Regions from separate parts of the Homo sapiens genome. Here regions 1 and 2 are each linked to region 3. The links are contacts of gene promoters, found by promoter capture Hi-C in blood cells and fetal thymus (Javierre and others, 2016). All regions are on one chromosome and are shown on one strand. Each heading gives the region's core, a stretch centred on a gene start or on the middle of the fragment in contact. The rest is flanking DNA. Distances are from core to core; before and after follow the strand shown. Region 1 overlaps CEP162 (centrosomal protein 162). Region 2 overlaps MRAP2 (melanocortin 2 receptor accessory protein 2). Region 3 holds the start of SNAP91 (synaptosome associated protein 91).

Region 1 (3,395 bases), core at 331-2,830, 450 kb before region 3:
TCTTAGAATTTTTTCTAGGATTTTTATAGTTTCAGGTCTTAGATCTTTAAAGCATCTTGAGTTTATTTTTGTATAAAGTGAGAGGTGTGAGTTCAGTTTCATTCTTTTGCACATGACAATCCATTTTTCCCAGCACCATTTATTGAATAGGGTGTCCTTTCCCTAGTGTATTTTTTTGGTGACTTTGTCCAAGATCAGTTGATTGTAGGCATGTGGCTTAATTTTTGGGTTCTCTATTCTGTTCCATTGATCTATGTGTCTATTTTTATCAGTACTGTGCTGTTTTGGCTGCTATAGCCTCGTAGTACAATTTGAAGTCAGGTAGTGTGATACCTCCAGCTTTGTTCTTTTTGCTTAGGATTGCTTTGGCTATTCAGCCTCTTTTTTGGTTCCGTATGAATTGTAGGATTGGTTTTTCTAATTCTGTGAAAAATGACTTTGGTAATTTGATAGGGATTGAATTGAATTTGTAGATTGCTTTAGGCAGTATGGTCATTTTAACTACACTAATCCTTCCAGTCTATGCACATGGGATGTTTTTCTATTTGTTTGTGTCACGGTTTTCTTTATCAGTGTTTGTAGTTCTCCTGGCAAACATCCTTCACCTTCTTGGTTAAATATATTCCTAGGTAGTTCTTGATTTGGTCCTCAGCAAGATTGTTATTGGTATATAGAAATGCTACTGTATACAGAGATTTCTGTAGATTGTATCCTGAAACTTTACTGAATTCATTTATTAAATCTAAGTGTTCTTTGGTGGAAAATATGTTTTAATAGGTTAAGGAAATGGAAGGGATTCTGAAGAGAAGATATCCCAATTCTTTACCTGCTTTAATATTGGCTGCATCAGCAGCTGGTGATACAGTGGATAAAAATACAGTGGAATTTATGGAGAAAAGGATAAAAAAGCTAGAAGCTGATCTGGAGGGCAAAGATGAAGATGCAAAGAAAAGCCTTCGTACCATGGAACAACAGTTTCAGAAAATGAAGGTAAGTGGTAAGTAGCCTCAGAGATAAAGGTCAGAGATGAACAATGGGGGCAGGCACTTCTTAGGATCTCACTTTAACAAATAGCTATAAACATTCTTTCCCATGAAACCTTTACCACTGGTATCAATAGGTGCAAAAGAAACCAAGTGCATCCTATTTTGGTGTCGTCTTTCAGCAACTTTTCTATTTCTGACAGAGTAATCAAGCACAGGATAATCTTTACATCATCTCTCTCAATATGAGAATTAGTGGAAATTAAGTCATGAAAAAGCAGAATAAAACACACCTGATATGTATCCAGTACAAAAGGAAAAAAGAAATTACCATGTTTGAAAATATTTTCACTGAAATTTATCTAGAGAAGGGTAAGGGAATAAGACAGAAGTATACATTTTAGGAACAGCGGGTAGGGGAGCATCTTCCAGAAATGTCTTACTTTCTGAGTTTTCCATTATTTTGTGAAACAGGAATGAATCAGAAAATACAAGTGCTAGAACAGACCAAGTATGAAACAGGACATATTTAATTTACTTTAAAAAAAATTTTGTAGACAAATAACAGTTATAGATTATTTTTAAAAATTTGTTGAGCACGTGTCTGTCAGGAATTCATGCTAGATACTTTCATAAATATCTCTGTTCATCTTGCATAATCCTTCCAAACACCTGTGAGGAGTAGATACTGTTAACACTATTTTGCAGATGAAGGAGCTGAGATGTTCTAGGAAGCTCATTTCATTTCCCACATATTTATATCCCGAGAAAAGCAACAAATGACAGAACATTAGATTCCAGAAACAGTAGAAGGTTGATAACCTGGAAATACAGTGGCCTGTTAATTAAGGTCACATCAAGGAGGTTGGGTTTCTTCTATTCCACCCTGTTTTACAGATAGATACATAGATAGATAGATAGATAGGTAGATAGATAGATAGATAGACAGACAGACAGACAGACAGACAGACAGATAGATAGATAGATAGATATCCCTGATAACATGTCTGGAGTCTAGCAAACAATTAATGATTATAATTATTATTAGTGTTCCACCAACTAAATAAGACTGTCAGGTGTAAACTCCAACCCGCTACTGCACTTTTATGTATCTAAATCTAAACACCCTAACTTGTTTCTTTTTGCAGCCCCCTGCCCCATCCCACTCCTGCCTTTGCTTACTACTTGTCTCTTCCCCCTTTCATTTCTGATTCCCTGTATATACCAAACATTCAGCCAGCTTTGCATATGCTCTTCCTACTTCCAAAACATCCCTGACTCCACCTAACCCCAAATTAACAGTCATCTCTCAAGACCGAACATAAATGTGCTATCTCTGTGCAGTCTTCCCACCTTCTGTCAAGCCTCCAGACACTTAGGGCAGCGTCGCCTCCTCTGCACTCACTGCACTATGTTCACAGGCCCATTATTTTACTTGTGGGACGTTGTAGCTGCTGCCATGTTGCTCTCCTCACCAAGCTGTGAGCTATTTGAAAATAATAACTGAGTCTTTTTGTTGCTAGAACCTGCATGTTGCTTGGCATAAGGTCATAACTTGGTAAATATCCATTGAATGAATGAGCAAACACTGCTCGTGCCTCCCTCCGTAGGAGAAATTATTTATTTCATTTGCTGAATACTAAACAAAATATTAAAGCTCCAGTATACAAATTCCAGGCCATTTTACTCTCTATGAAAGTAATAAATTGATGTTAGAAGGTTGAAAATGTGCTGTTTCCCGAAGACTTCAGTGCCCCCAGTTGCTTTACTGTTTATCCTCGAAGAGTGTGTTGACAGTTTGCATGGAGAAGACTGCATAATAATAGGTTTTATTGTGAGATTTAAAATAAATTTTGGAGTGTGTAAGAACATATGTAAGTTAATAGTTATGAAGCAACATATCAATTATTAAATAACATAACATATATCAAGAATATATAATGTTATGCCCTGAAAGACTAGGACTTCAATACATTTGACTCACTCAAGAAACAGAATTGTAGACATCAGAATGTATAATGAGTACCTGAATAAAGGATTAGGTAGGACCCAGTAGTGTGCAGGGCTTCAGCAACTAATGAAACGTTTAACAGGTGTTTGGCATTACATGGATTCTTTCCTTCAGATTCAGTATGAACAAAGACTAGAGCAGCAGGAGCAGCTACTTGCCTGCAAATTGAATCAACATGACTCTCCCAGAATTAAAGCCCTAGAGAAGGAACTTGATGACATCAAGGAAGCCCATCAGATCACTGTAAGAAACCTTGAAGCCGAAATAGACGTTCTTAAACATCAGAATGCTGAATTAGACGTCAAGAAAAATGATAAAGATGATGAAGATTTTCAGTCTATAGAATTCCAGGTGGAACAGGCTCATGCTAAAGCTAAATTAGTAAGACTCAATGAAGAACT
Region 2 (3,566 bases), core at 999-3,498, 350 kb before region 3:
AACAGTCTGATCCGCAGTTGGCTGGAGACTGATAAGATGTAAAGGATGAGGAGGAGGGAAGAGTCTGCTCCGCCTCCAGGTTTCTGTCTCAGATAGCATGAAGGGATTTAGGCCTCATTGACTCATGCTTTCCATATCTCAAGGAAGGAACCTAGACCAGAGCATAGGTTATCTAGGACCTCAAGATTCCACTAATGTGTTTTGAGTTAGAAAATAAAATTTTTAGCAGACTATCAACTCAAGTTTTAAGTGCATTTGGATTCCTACTGTTAAAAGAAAAACTTTAGACAAATTAAATTTAACAGATATTAACTGTGCAAGGAAAACAAAATTCTTGAACCGGGAAGCTCCCAGAATCAGAATAGATTCAGAGAGACTCTGGGCTGCCTCATGGTTGGTTAAGATTTAGGGACAGAAAAAGGAAAATGATGTACAGAAAAAAGAAGCAAGGTACGGAAACAGCTGGATTTGAACACCATTTGAACAGCTGTCTGCCTGGGAGTGCCTGAAGTGTAGCTGCTGTGATTAGCTGAGACTGAGCTATTGTTACAGAAGCATTGGCTAGGTTTTCAGTTTGCTTACCTAGTAAGCTAGGTCACAGCTCATACCTAAGAATGCAAGTATGCAAATAATGGAGGCCTTCTTGGGCCAAATTTTAGTTTAACAACTCAATTGGTTAGCATCTCAATTAGGTAGCAACTTTGCATTCTCACTTACGTTCACCATGGATAATTCAGGCTCTCATTACTTCTTGCAGAGAACATACAGATGGCCTCTTGAGTGCTCTCTCTGCCTTCTGCCTTTCCCTGTGCTTTATTTCTGTACAAACCTGCTTTAATCACAGCCCTGATGATATTGCTCTTTCATGAAAAGCTCTCCAACAAAAACAGAACTGACCCACTTTTCCAGAGTAAAAGAGATTCCACACATAAAGCACTTTATACAATGTCTGACATCTGAGAAAACAGTACACCACAGGTGCTGGCTACTGTCATTAGAATTGTCATTTTCTCCCAATTTACCACTTTAAAAGCCATGTGTTTCCAATCAAACTAGGGGACACTGTGTCCCTGTATTTACCTTAGCCACAGCTTCCTCACAGCCACACCTTACCAGGGCTCTTACCACTACCTGGCTGGAACAACTTTTCCCAACGTGGAGCTAATGAAAGTGTATCCATCCTTCCAAGTCCATCCGCTACACTATCTACTAAGCCTCAACTAATTTCCATAATTGATGTGTTGTCTCCCTCCTTTGAACCCAATAACATTTTTGTCTGTAATTCCCTAAACAGGGCTCTCCTTGGTCCTATCTTGGATAACAATCACAATTCTTTATCTCTAGGACCAGGGTTAGATTGGATTGTCTACAGAACTTGGTACTTGCACAATAAGGCCTCAAATCTAGGACACAACAGAGTTGAATCATTCTACATTTTTTGGCCTACACTAAGAAGCTTGTCTATGTGGAAATACAATGAGGATGCTTAGCAATTTTCTAAAAATAAGTGATTAGAGCTTAAATATTAAATGTGTTTAAATGCAAAGCTTTATTCTAATTAAATTATGTATATGTAGCACTTTTTCCAAAGTGAAGAAATCAGATTAACAATTTACTCTGCATAATTCATACTTTCATCCTACATATACTATTGCCTAGAGGTTAACAATGTGTATTCAGCACTCTGAAAAACTAATGTGTCTAACCTTAAGTGCCAAAGAAATAGAAATTGTATACTTTGCCTTTTAATATAGTAGAAATGAGGCATAAAAAAAGACATAAGGGCCAGGCGCAGTGGCTCACGCCTGTAATCCCAGCACTTTGGGAGGCCGAGGCGGGCAGATCACGAGGTCAGGAGATCAAAACCATCCTGGCTAAGACAGTGAAACCCCGTCTCTACTAAAAATACAAAAAAAAAAAAAAAAAAAATTAGCCGGGTGTGGTGGCAGGCGCCTGTAGTCCCAGCTACTCGGGAGGCTGAGGCAGGAGAATGGCGTGAACCCGGCAGGTGGAGCTTGCAGTGAGCCAAGATCGCGCCACAGCACTGCAGCCTGGGTGACAGAGCAAGACTCCGTCTCAAAAAAAAAAAAAGATGTAAGGACAAATACCAAACACCACATGTACTGAGGTACAACTAACATGAAACAATTAAATCTCAACTATCTAGGCATGGACTGTGAAGAAACATTGTACAGATAAATAACAGTTCCCTACACTGTACTTTATCAACTGCCTGCATAGCAAAAGCAAATTCTAAAATTATACACCAATGCTATATTTAAGTCTTCGGTTTAGAATTGAATCATGTTGATTGACATTTTTCAAATCTGTGTATTAGGAAGGTGTTCTCCTAAGGACAGCTTTCACACTGCAAATGGTGGACTGACTCCCAGAGGTGGAGGAAAGCGTGCCCTCAACCCAGCCCAGTCCCCCTTCCCTCTGCCCTTCTAAGTACCCCCAGGGAGATAATCAAAAAGCAGCAATAATGTGAAGCATGGGAGGGTTACAGCCTTCAGAGAAGGCAGGTGGCGGCAGAGTTGGGGAGAGGCAGGCTGTGGGTAAAATCTGAGAATCCTCATGATCCAACAGCATTTCCAAACATTTCCTTAATAATGCGGCATCTATGTTTTTCATGGCAATATGCTTTAAGTAGCTCTGCTTATTCACATTTCCCTTTGAACAAAATTTAGCTTCCTCAAGTTATTTCCACTAATTTCCCCCAACCTCATCTTCTGCCCTATGACCCATCCCCAGGGGATTTTCTCACCCTGAGCCTCTTACAAGAAACATCAGAGATCCCCATCTCATCCCAGAAATATCCAAACTCTCCTGAAGTTTTATTCACATGTAAGTTTCATGGGCATAGGCACTACAGTAAGATGGGAAAAGTGGAGCCCGTTGTCTTCCCAAAAGCATCCTTTTCTGGGAAGAAGTCAGAATAAAGCTTTATACAGAGCAAAGCTCCAATGAGGCTAGATGGTTAAGAAAGTCAAAAGAAGCCTTCCAAACGAGTTTCCACCACCGCCAAGCTACCACACTCTGTCCTGTCTAGACACTGAGCTACTTAGAGACTACTATTGTAAAGGGGTAGAACAATTGCCCAGGGGAATTGCAAATGGAATGCGTCAGAATAAAGTAACCCCCCTTAACCTAACCTTTAATGAATGGAATGGAACAAGAGAGCTGAAAGTTGACATGATTTTTTTCCTTCCCAATCTAGGGTAGGACTAGGTTAACTACTCCATCCGACTCACCCTCCTCTCCACCTCCTGAGAATAAATGGTGAACTTTCCACTTCGTGGTTATATGAAAAACAAGGGTTAATACTTCACTTGAAAGAGAGGTTCATGACACTTTCCTCACACCACTTTTTGTTCCTAAGGCAGTAGGGCCAATTCTGTGATATGAATTCCTGGCAAAGAGCCAACAGTGATGTTCCCACACTTGTCTCTACTATCTTACTCCAAGCCTTTGCAAACTCTAGCTGTTTCTCATCCTAATGACCTGGCTTCTTGCTGACCCATCCATGCATGGGTCTGGTATCTGCAAGGTGGCACACGAAAAAG
Region 3 (3,570 bases), core at 806-3,305:
CCAAAGTGCTGGGATTACAAGCATGAGCCAACCGCGTCCGGCCTACAGGGCTATTTCAAGTCATCTATACCCTTACAGGTTTCCTGTCTACTTGTCCTATTTATTACATAGAGAAAAGTGCTGAAATCCTGAAGTATAATTGTGGATTTGCCTGTTTCTCCTTTTAATGCTATTAGGTTTTGCTTCGTCCTACTTTGAAGCTCTGTTCTTAGATATACAAACAAGTAGAATTGTTCCATGCTCTTAATGAATTTTTCATTATGAAATGTGCCTGTTTATTGCTATTAATATTCCTTATTGTAAAACCTACTTTGATATTAATATTGCCACTCCCAACTCTATCAGATTATATTGAGGTATAATTAACAAACAACAAAATTCGCCAATTTTAAGTGTACAAATTGATGAGTTTTGAGAAATACATGCAGCTGTATAATCATCATCACCGTCACGATATAAAACATTTCCATCTCTCCAAAAAGTTTCCTTCTGCCCCTTTGCAGTCCCCTCCCCCAATGCCACCGTCACCTGACTCGGCACCTGATGTGTTTTCTGTTTCTATAGTTTTGACTTTTCCAGAATGTTACATAAATGAAATCAAAATAATAAGTAGAATTTTTGATAGAGCTTCTTTCCCTTCGTCTAATGAATTTGAGATTCATGAATGGTATTAGTTTGTTTCTTGTTATTGCTAAGTAGTATTCCATTATGTGGATATACCATATTTTGTTTATTCATTTACTAGTAGAATAACATTTGGCTTTCCTCCAGTTTGGGGCCATTATATTAAGCTGCTATAAAACTGGAGTACAAGTTTTTTTAATAGAATTGCGTTTTTATTTCCCTTGTAAATATGGTAAGACTAGTACTTGAGACAATAGTGCTCTTAAGCTGTCTCTCTTTAGTCATTAAGCTTCCAATTAGTCCTAGAATCAGTCTCAGTAGTTAGGAAATCATGACTGCATACTGAACACTGTACCAGGTGAAAGAGAGGAATATATAACAAAACGTTGAGATCGATAGGTATCGATATATGGCTTCAAGGCCGAGCAGAAGCCACCCGAAGCAAGGAGAAAAAATGCCAGGAAAGCTCACAAATATAGTTTTGATCTTCATGCTACTGTGAGAATTAAAAAAAAAGGTGAACATAAATAACAACCTTTGAAAATGTCAACACGTGAAGCTATTAACCAACTCCACATCCCTGTTTAGAAATTCCTGCTTACTATTCGAATATACACTTGACATACAATTGACGGACGTTCCAACACTATATTTAATTGGCAGAAATTACTTCTTAAGGGTACAAAGGGTTTTCTTTATGCACGCAAATGATTACTGTCGAAGGTAATCTGGGACTCGATTAACGGCTGTGTTAATTATTCTCCCTTCAGCAGACCTCAGTATCCGTTTAAGACTAAAGTGGCTAGAATTACCTGCCCACCCGGGCTCCCAGTTGTAACTGAGACAAGCGGAGGAGCCTGAGGAGCTGAAGACGCACAGGTGACGGTCGCGGATGGCCGGCAGGATCTGACATTTAAAATCGCCCTGCTCATCTGGGCCTCGGAGCCTTTGACAGGCGGGCGTGTCAGCGACAGTGTGGGGAAGGGGCTGGGCTCCGCCAGGCAGCGCGCGACGACGCCCTTGCCTTGGCCTTCACAGAGTAGAACCCGAGAAGCCCACTCGCCCGTCTTGGCCAACGCCCCCAACGCCCAGGGCTCCCCCCGCAGTCGGCGGGCAGGTGTGCGTGGTGCGCGAGCCCAGTGCGTGCCGGGTGCGGCGCCAGCAGCGGAGGGGCGGCCCGGCGCCCAGCGGAGAGCCGCTGGCTGGGTGGGTGTCGGCCTCCCCGCCTCCTTCTTCTCCCCGCCGGCTTGCCGGGGATGCTTGCGCGAGGCGCCCCCTCGCCTTTAAGCTCCCGGCCCCGGGGGGCGGTGTGTGTGAGTAGCTGGGAGGGGGCCGCGAGGCGCTCCGCCGAGGGCTCGTCCGGGTTTGTCCGCCGCCGTCACCTGACTCGTCGGAGGAGCCACAGCTGAGGTGGGGGCGGGGATGGGGACGCAGCTCGGAGCGCTAGAGAGACGCGGCGGCGCTGGCAGAAGAGGCGGCGGCGGGCGGGTACTGGCTTCTGGGGCCAGGGGCCAGGGGCGGTGGGCGCCGGGACCGCGGAGCTGAGGAGCGGGGCCCGGCCAGGGCTGGAGACTTTGCGCCCGGGGGCACCGGGGCTACGCGCGGTCGCACACATCCACCGGCGCGGCTTCCCTCGGCGGCCCGGGCTCCGCTCATCCTGCGGCGGGCGGCGCCGCTCAGGGGCGGGGTGAGTACCCGCGGCCGTACTCGGCCCCCTCCCCGCGCCAGGGTCTCGCGGGGATCCGCAGAGGATAATCCCAGGGTGCGGAGAAGGGCAGCGGCCGAGTGACAGCTCCGCGGAGCGCTCCAGGGCGGGCGGGGGACTGGGCTTCGCTGTCAGCCCGGCTCCTCTCCAAAGCCAGGAAGGGTGAGGCGCCCCAAGACTCCGGCGCCTCCGCAGAGCTCCCGGGCGGCCCCTGCGGCAGGGATTTGGAACCGGGGGGAAGGGGCCCGGGCGATGGGCCTCGGCGAGGCTTTGGAGCCGGCGGCGAGGAAGGAAGGGGAGGCGAGGGCATAACATGGCGCAACGCTAGGATAATCTCCTTCGCGACTGAGGGAGGACGAGCCCTTTGCTGCAGCAGCGCGAGGAGGAGGAGGGAGGCAGCCAGGGCTTGGGTATCCGATGCATTCCCCGAAGCCTGCGGGCTGCTAGGAGGAAAGTCTGCTGAGGTGGGAGATGGGCACCGGTGGGTGCGGCGCCCAGGGAATAACCCCAACGCACGTTGTGGCTAGTCCAGCACCCGCGGGTCAGGTTGCGGGGAAAGTGCTGATTGACAGGGGGGTCCCCAGGGGGTGAGTCTGGCCCTATGTGGGGGCCGGGGGAGAATGGGGACGGTGTCACGATGCTGCGACTGGAGCCCACGCTGGGGTTCCGTGACGGCCCTACTCACGGCCAAGACTCCCTGGACCGCATCGCAGGAGCGGGGCTTGGCGCGTTGCTGGCTCCGAGAGGTGGTGCCAGGGTGGGGATGGAGGAGGAGAGAGCCGCCGCGCGGCTGGAGGAGGCAAGGCCTGGGTGCTTGGAGGGTAGGGTCTGCGGATTAAAGCCGGACCGTCTCCCCTTGTTTCCTGCAGAAGAGGAGGCGGTAGACGCGACCACAGAAGATGTCGGGCCAAACGCTCACGGATCGGATCGCCGCCGCTCAGTACAGCGTTACAGGCTCTGCTGTAGCAAGAGCGGTCTGCAAAGCCACTACTCATGAAGTAATGGGCCCCAAGAAAAAGCACCTGGACTGTAAGCATCTCTTTATATAAGAGGGACATGCGCACGGCAGAGGCGCCTGGGATGCTGGTGGTGCGGCCTGCGCTCTTGGTCCATAATGCTGTGGCCTCTGATACTCCCAGCCAGGTTGCCCCTGAGCTGAAATTCTTCAGCTGTGAAGGTGTTCCCTTGGGTTAGCCATGAAACCTTGTCTTGTGAGCCATTTTTTCCTCTTATTGACCTCC

What was found. Contacts are between HindIII fragments. The CHiCAGO score rates a contact against its expected background, and 5 or more counts as called.
Region 1: a fragment that was not itself captured here is called in contact with the fragment with the promoter of SNAP91 in region 3 in 1 of 17 cell types (neutrophils); the score reaches 5.3 in neutrophils.
Region 2: a contact is called between a fragment that was not itself captured here and the fragment with the promoter of SNAP91 in region 3, in 1 of 17 cell types (neutrophils). The highest score is 5.3, in neutrophils.

What each region holds. Positions count from the first base shown.
Region 1 is chr6:84,152,893-84,156,287 of GRCh38, reverse strand. It overlaps CEP162 (centrosomal protein 162), which reads left to right. Exons shown (of 27, transcript NM_014895.4): 22 at 778-990; 23 at 3,109-3,395. Among named protein-coding and RNA genes, the nearest start is that of CEP162, 73 kb to the left of the region's middle. The HindIII fragment of the contact is 7,858 bases long and covers 1-3,395 here.
Region 2 is chr6:84,059,216-84,062,781 of GRCh38, reverse strand. All of the region lies in intron 2 of MRAP2 (melanocortin 2 receptor accessory protein 2), which reads right to left. Among named protein-coding and RNA genes, the nearest start is that of MRAP2, 27 kb to the right of the region's middle. The HindIII fragment of the contact is 1,397 bases long and covers 1,550-2,946 here.
Region 3 is chr6:83,707,586-83,711,155 of GRCh38, reverse strand. It overlaps SNAP91 (synaptosome associated protein 91), which reads left to right and starts at 2,055. Exons shown (of 30, transcript NM_001242792.2): 1 at 2,055-2,311; 2 at 3,199-3,358. The coding sequence starts at 3,229. LOC105377879 (a long non-coding RNA gene) reads right to left here and starts at 1,714. Exons shown (of 3, transcript NR_136251.1): 1 at 1,437-1,714. RefSeq lists silencers at 1,783-1,842, 2,173-2,382, 2,792-3,086. The HindIII fragment of the contact is 3,637 bases long and covers 916-3,570 here.